Regions from separate parts of the Homo sapiens genome. Here region 2 is linked to region 1. The links are contacts of gene promoters, found by promoter capture Hi-C in human tissues and cell types (Jung and others, 2019). All regions are on one chromosome and are shown on one strand. The core of a region is centred on a gene start or on the middle of the fragment in contact, and the rest is flanking DNA. Distances in the headings are between cores, read along the strand shown. Region 1 holds the start of NOP56 (NOP56 ribonucleoprotein). Region 2 overlaps PTPRA (protein tyrosine phosphatase receptor type A).

Evidence for each region. The method cuts DNA at HindIII sites, captures the fragments that hold promoters and counts their contacts. A contact is called where the count stands out against the background at its distance.
Region 2: a fragment that was not itself captured here is called in contact with the fragment with the promoter of NOP56 in region 1 in 1 of the 25 tissues and cell types used here (IMR-90 fibroblasts).

Annotation. Positions count from the first base shown.
Region 1 is chr20:2,650,725-2,654,359 of GRCh38, reverse strand. NOP56 (NOP56 ribonucleoprotein) reads right to left here and starts at 1,728. Exons shown (of 12, transcript NM_006392.4): 1 at 1,697-1,728; 2 at 1,429-1,518; 3 at 967-1,081. The coding sequence starts at 1,699. It overlaps MIR1292 (microRNA 1292), which reads right to left and starts at 1,583; the gene lies at 1,518-1,583. It overlaps LOC105372505 (a long non-coding RNA gene), which reads left to right and starts at 1,896. Exons shown (of 5, transcript XR_007067502.1): 1 at 1,896-2,000. SNORD110 (small nucleolar RNA, C/D box 110) reads right to left here and starts at 148; the gene lies at 74-148. RefSeq lists an enhancer at 1,015-1,104 and a silencer at 1,605-2,244. The HindIII fragment of the contact is 12,812 bases long and covers 1-3,635 here.
Region 2 is chr20:3,017,980-3,021,614 of GRCh38, reverse strand. PTPRA (protein tyrosine phosphatase receptor type A) reads right to left here. Exons shown (of 24, transcript NM_001385305.1): 14 at 187-306. Among named protein-coding and RNA genes, the nearest start is that of GNRH2, 24 kb to the left of the region's middle. The HindIII fragment of the contact is 8,052 bases long and covers 1-3,635 here.

The DNA of each region.
Region 1 (3,635 bases), core at 479-2,978:
CATCCCTCAGCTGACTACCCTGGTCCCACCGAGCACGCTGGGATGGCATACCTAGATCCCTCCCCATCAGGCATTGCTCAGAGACATGGAGACATCAGTGATTGCACTCAGGGGATTGACAGATTTGATTCGCAAGTCATCACTGCAAAGCCTGGCCCAGCCATGGGAACAACTGCATTCAGGTCTGATAGCACAAGTGGGCAATAAATAATAGCTTGTAACACACCCTCGAGTATTTCGTAGAATTTGCCTTCTGGAACCAAACCTTTTTTTCTCAGCCTGTGTTTACCCAACTGCCCTTTCCAATCGAACAGAAAGCAGAGAACCAGACACTTGATTGTGTTTAGGCAAAACCTCAGGCACAAGTAGGTGTTAAGCCGACCCCCTTTAAGAAACCCCCCTTTGTCGGCCGGGCACCGTCGCTCGCGCCTGCAACCTCAGCACCTTGGGAGGTCGAGGCGGGCGGATCACGAGGTCAGGAGATGGAGACTAGCCTGGCCAACATGGTGAAACCCCGTCTCTACCAAAAATACAAAATTAGCCGGGTGTGGTGGCTGGCACAGGCCTGTAATCCCAGTTACTCGGGAGGCTGAGGCAGGAGAATCGCCTGAACCAGGGAGGCAGAGGTTGCAGTGAGCCCAGATCTTGCCACTGCACTCCAGCCTGGGGGACAGACTCCATCTCAAAAAAAATAAAAATAAAAAATAGTTTGTCACTACAGTGCCCACAAGGAAACGTTAACACACATTCCACATCGTCTGCTTAAACAGTTTGGTCTAGCACAGTTCCCAGACCTTGAGCTCTGTGAAGACAATTATTTCAAATTACACATTGTATGGCTCAAATACTGCCTCACGCCTATCAGACTCAGAGCCAGCCAAGGACGGCAAATACTATCACAAGCTGCCCGAGAGGATACCGAAAGGAACCACATCTCTCTGTGACACTTGGCGGTGGCCGACTTACCTTCAGACACGGCGTTGGCATTTTCCAAGGCAACCTGGGATGAGGCAAAGGGACAAAAGGCCACCAGACGAACGATGCTGTGGAATTTGCCCAGGTTGAGCACAGACTCCTCCACCTGGGGGGAGAAAGAGGCTAAGTGGTTTCCTTCCCTCCCTCCTGCCTCTGCGGCGCAGTCAAGCAGCGGTTCTCAGCCTTGGAAGCTCTTAAAATATGCTGATACCTGGGCCCCACATCCCAGCTTCTGCTTTAATCGTTCGGGGGCGGCGTCCGGGAGGCTTATTTCTAATTGCTAGAGCGATTCTACCCATGGGTCAAGGTAAAGACCCCCGGATCTAGAGCTTTCCAGGCCCGTCCCCCCGCCCCGAACCGCTCGGCCGGCCACGTGGGAGCGCGCTGTGCATGCTGGGACCCGCGCGATGAGGGTCTGCGGGGCCGCCAAAGGAGCCCACGGATCTCACCCACCTGCGGCTGCAGCAGACTGATCTCCTCCACTTCCTTCAGCGCCAGCAGCGCGTAGCCGACCGCGTGCTCAAACAGCACGTGCAACAGCACCTGGAACGGGAGCCGGGGCGCGAGCGTCAACGCAACCTCAGCGTCTGCCGGAACCCGTTCCCAGGGCAGGCGCAGGCGCAGGCGCAGGCCCAGGCCCAGGCCCAGGCCCTGTCTGCGGCCCGAACGCAGGCCGAAACCCCCACCGTCGCGTCGCCCGCGCCCCGCAACCACTCCTCACCATGGCGCCAGCTCCCGGGTTCGGCTCGCAATGCGGCTAGCGCGCTCCGGCGCGCGGAACCAGGCTCCAGAGGCCACGCCCCCGCCCCCCCGACCAATCGGAGGCCGGGGACGACACCATCTCCGGCCTTTGGAGGGGCCGCCCAGGGTGGTATCGCCCGGAGCGCGGGCTGGGTGGTGCCGAGCGCGGGCGAGCGGGCCTTTTCCGGCCTCTGCAGCTGCGCGGGCGGGCGTGGTTGCCGGGGACGCGCGGCCCCCGGTCGGGCACTGCAGGCGGCGAAACGACTTGGGAAGGCCCTTTCGGGGTAATAGTCCGGTTCCTGATGTTCTTGTCATATGAGTTACGGGCAGCAGAGCTGGGTGAAGTCGGGGCGGGAGGTCCGCGTGGGGCGCGGCGTCCATCCCAGACAGAGACCGCTGCCTAGCCGGCTTCCCGCTTCGTCCGTGGCCTCGGGCCCCAGACCCTGCGCCCCACGTCCCCGGGACCCAGGCGTTCCCGTCCCCTACTCGGGGACGAGCCTCCCCGGCGCCGGGTGGGCGGTGCATCCTTTCCTCCCACCCGTAACGGGAGCGGTGCCTGGCGCGCTCTGGCGCAGACCCTGCTGGGAATGTAGCTCGCGCAGTTTTCTTCGTACTATTAATTTATTTCTTTTTTTTGTTTTTGGTTTTTTTTTTTTAAATGACTGTAGCAGGCAGTAACGTGCGAAAGAAAGACGCTCCAGCGTCTTCCTAGGCCAGTTTCTTGTTGCTGTGCTGCACGGGACCCAGCTCCTTTTGCTGGGCCACGTGTTGCTCCTCCGCTTGGGCGGCCCTGAATTCTGGGCGCTGGTGATCGCTGAGTGAATCGCAGCTGCTTCCCTGTCCTTGAGGGCGTCTTTTGGGCACTCAGGCGACTCTTTAGAAATGAGTTTTGCTTTAATAATTAATATTAACGTTATAAATCCAAAACCTAGTTATACTTAAGTAGCGTATCCCCTGGTATGTTTTAAAGAGTCATTCGAAGGGGATTTTTAAAAATAATGTATAGCTATAAACTGCATTTATACATTTAATTGTTATTTTGTTAAGCGATTGAGTTACTTGACAAAATCCAAGTACATAGTTCACTCACAAATCTAATATGTCAAACCTAAATGTGGTTGGTAAATCTTACTCTCATAATTTCAATATGGTTTACAGATGTGGTTGAATTCTGTTACACATGTCTACTTACGAGTCAGAATCGTTATTCCATTTAATATTTTAAAATGGAATTGCCAAGTTAATCCATACATTAGCATGTTAAATTATTTTAACCGTCGTGAATACATCAAAATAGACGATTCCAAAATGTAATGGAAAATACTAATGCTAATACTTCAATTTACTTCATTATTTCTGCCCTTAATCCTGAATCTTCCTGGAGTTACAGGTGCTTATCCACTAAACCAGGGGTTTTCAAGCAAGAAGTCAGAATGCATTAATGGACAGCATTTAAAAAAATAGGATTGGGTGGGCTATAATCCAGCACTTTAGGAGGCCGAGGCAGGCGGATCACTTAAGATCAGGAGTTCGAGACCAGCCTGGCCAACATGGTGAAACCCCGTCTCTACCAAAAAATAAAAAAATTAGCTGGACGTGGTGGAGCATGTCTGTAATCCCAGCTACTCGGGAGGCTGAGGAAGGAGAATCGCTTGAACCCGGGAGGCAGAGGCTGCACTCTAGCCTGGGCAACAGAGCAAGGCTCTGTCAAAAAAAAAAAAAAAAAAAAAAAAAAGAAAAAGGATTAAAGCGAATAGAAATAAGAGTGTGTTGCTTAGAGTAAGGTGCTGTTCATTGTAAAACTTTTGTCTCAGCTCTACATACATATATAGAAATATGTACACAAATATTTTTCATATATACATATATATGTAACTATATGAACACACTTTTGTGTGTTAAATCAGAATATAAAAAAC
Region 2 (3,635 bases), core at 335-2,834, 370 kb before region 1:
CCAGTCATGAAAATACTGCTCCTTTAGCTTTGACAGACAAGTTCCCCTGAGCCCGGATATCTGGTTTCAGAATTCACATACTGCATACTCAGCAACTCCTGACCACAGCGGGATGATCCAGCCTGTTCCCTCTTACTGGTCAGCAGATCCAACATAAGAACTGAGAAAGGACAGAGGAGACACTACCTGCTGGATGCAGAACTTCCGTACTGTGTAGTCCACCAGGACAGTCACATCCTCTACAGACACCCGAATATTCCCATAGGTCCAGCAGCCTTGGTCTGGCCAGTACTGGGCGCACTTGCACTGGAAAGAAAAAGACATACATTCCCTGACCTTAGACCTCCTGCCCATGGCAGATGCAAAGGGCCTGGAAGGAAGAGCCCACAAAGCCCAGATTAAAGTCCCCCAGAAGGCCCTTTGACCTCTTCTCTATCTCAGTCAGTTGCACACTTACTTATTCAAATTTGCCCTTTTCTCAAGTTCCTTAGCCGCCATCCTATTGAGCACAGTCTCCTAACTTACACACAGCCCTAGCCCCATACTTCTCAATGTTTCCCACCCACACTCCCTTGGTTCAGGGCGAATCTGAAGCCATCTTACCTACAAAATCTGCACTTTCACAACATTTCAGGTCATGCTCTAGGAGAAAGCCTGTTTGAACCCCTCGAACCAGCAGTCTGCTATGAGGGGGCCACCAGGGTAGACTGATGCAGACTGTAAACCTGCCATGAGAGGCCTAGAGCTTTTTCTGTTGCCTGAGCTTTGGATAGCTTCCAAGAGCAAGAGGTTTGGTTGGAGGAAACTAACCTAAAGCCCAGCCCTAGCACTGTCTTCCCATGCCACTGTGGAGCTGTTGATCATGACACCCGATACCCTAGGATCAAGGTGACTCAAGGGCCATCCTTGAGAAACACGGTAACAAATAGGTATTCCTCGCTGGGGCTCGACCCCAGGACCCAGAATTGGCTCTGGCTGTGGCCCAGTGATAGAGCTGGTTAGGCCAGGCATGCACTTGGTAGCCACAAAAGGAAAAGGCCCAGTTAGGAGGCTGCCTCCAGGATTAGGCCAAGGCCTCAAATTCCCTTTGGCTTGCAGGGTCTCAGTTCATAAAGCTCCCTCTGCTGATCCAGGATATACCAAAGGCCTCAGCAGGTGGGGCAGAAAACCAGGGAAATAAGGAACTAGAGAAACCAGGGGAAAAAAGCTCCTCTGTGGGCCGGGCGTGGTGGCTCACGCCTATAATCCCAGCACTTTGGGAGGCCGAGGTGGGTGGATCACGAGGTCAGGAGATCGAGACCATCCTGCCTAACACAGTGAAACCCCGTCTCTACTAAAAAAAACACAAAAAATTAGCTGGGCGTGGTGGCGGGTGGTACTCGGGAGGCTGAGGCAGAAGAATGGTGTGAACCCGGGAGGCGGAGCTTGCAGTGAGCCGAGATGGCACCACTGCCCTTCAGCCTGGGCGACAGAGCGAGACTCCGTCTCAAAAAACAAAACAAAACAGCTCTCCCTCTCCCTCTCCCCACGGTCTCCCTCTCCCTCTCTTTCCACGGTCTCCCTCCGATGCCGAGCCGAAGCTGGACGGTACTGCTGCCATCTCGGCTCACTGCAACCTCCCTGCCTGATTCTCCTGCCTCAGCCTGCCGAGTGCCTGCGATTGCAGGCGCGCGCCGCCACGCCTGACTGGTTTTCGTATTTTTTTGGTGGAGACGGGGTTTCGCTGTGTTGGCCGGGCTGGTCTCCAGCTCCTAACCGCAAGTGATCTGCCAGCCTCGGCCTCCCGAGGTGCCGGGATTGCAGACGGAGTCTCGTTCACTCAGTGCTCAATGGTGCCCAGGCTGGAGTGCAGTGGCGTGATCTTGGCTCGCTACAACCTCCACCTCCCAGCAGCCTGCTTTGGCCTCCCAAAGCGCCGAGATTGCAGCCTCTGCCCAGCCGCCACCCCGTCTGGGAAGTGAGGAGCGTCTCTGCCCGGCCGCCCATCGTCTGGGATGTGAGGAGCCCCTCTGCCTGGCTGCCCAGTCTGGAAAGTGAGGAGAGTCTCTGCCCGGCCGCCATCCCATCTAGGAAGTGAGGAGCGTCTCTGCCCGGCCGCCCATCGTCTGAGATGTGGGGAGCACCTCTGCCCTGCCGCCCCGTCCGGGATGTGAGGAGCATCTCTGCCTGGCCGCCCCGTCTGAGAAGTGAGGAGACCCTCTGCCTGGCAACCGCCCCGTCTGAGAAGTGAGGAGCCCCTCCGCCCAGCAGCCGCCCGGTCTGAGAAGTGAGGAGCCCCTCCGCCCAGCAGCCACCCCGTCTGGGAAGTGAGGAGCGTCTCTGCCCGGCAGCCACCTCGTCCGGGAGGGAGGTGGGGGGGTCAGCCCCCCGCCCGGCCAGCCGCCCCGTCCGGGAGGGAGGTGGGGGGGTCAGCCCCACGCCCGGCCGGCCGCCCCGTCCGGGAGGGAGGTTGGGGGATCAGCCCCCCGCCCGGCCAGCCGCCCCGTCCAGGAGGTGAGGGGCGCCTCTGCCCGGCCGCCCCTACTGGGAAGTGAGGAGCCCCTCTGCCCGGCCAGCCGCCCCGTCCGGGAGGTGGGGGGGTCAGCCCCCCCGCCCGGCCAGCTGCCCTGTCCGGGAGGGAGGTTGGGGGATCAGCCCCCTGCCCGGCCAGCCGCCCCGTCCGGGAGGTGAGGGGCGCCTCTGCCCGGCCGCCCCTACTGGGAAGTGAGGAGCCCCTCTGCCCGGCCAGCCACCCCGTCCGGGAGGGAGGTGGGGGGATCAGCCCCCCGCCCGGCCAGCCGCCCTGTCCGGGAGGTGAGGGGCGCCTCTGCCCGGCCGCCCCTACTGGGAAGTGAGGAGCCCCTCTGCCCGGCCACCACCCCGTCTGGGAGGTGTGCCCAGCAGCTCATTGAGAACGGGCCATGATGACAATGGCGGTTTTGTGGAATAGAAAGGGGGGAAAGGTGGGGAAAAGATTGAGAAATCGGATGGTTGCCGTGTCTGTGTGGAAAGAAGTAGACATGGGAGACTTTTCATTTTGTTCTATACTAAGAAAAAATCTTCTGCCTTGGGATCCTGTAGATCTGTGACCTTACCCCCAACCCTGTGCTCTCTGAAACATGTGCTGTATCCACTCAGGGTTGAATGGATTAAGGGCGGTGCAAGATGTGCTTTGTTAAACAGATGCTTGAAGGCAGCAGGCTCGTTAAGAGTCATCACCACTCCCTAATCTCAAGTACCCAGGGACACAAACACTGCAGAAGGCCGCAGGGTCCTCTGCCTAGGAAAACCAGAGACCTTTGTTCACTTGTTTATCTGCTGACCTTCCCTCCACTATTGTCCTGTGACCCTGCCAAATCCCCCTCTATGAGAAACACCCAAGAATGATCAATAAAAAAACAAAACAAAACAAAACAAAACAACAACAAAAAAAACCCCTCTGTGGCTTTTCCTTAGCTGATGGCCCAAGTCAGTCTCTTTCAGGCTGTTCTGGAACCAGGGTGAGTTGTTTGACTACCAAATACAGGGAATGTGCTCTAGGCACACACCTGAGGTTCATATCTGGGGCTTCCAGGCCATAGCAAAGTCTGATAGACTTCAGCCTGTGTCTTTCTGGATGAACTACTGGTACAGCACCCACAAAGGATAGACAGCCA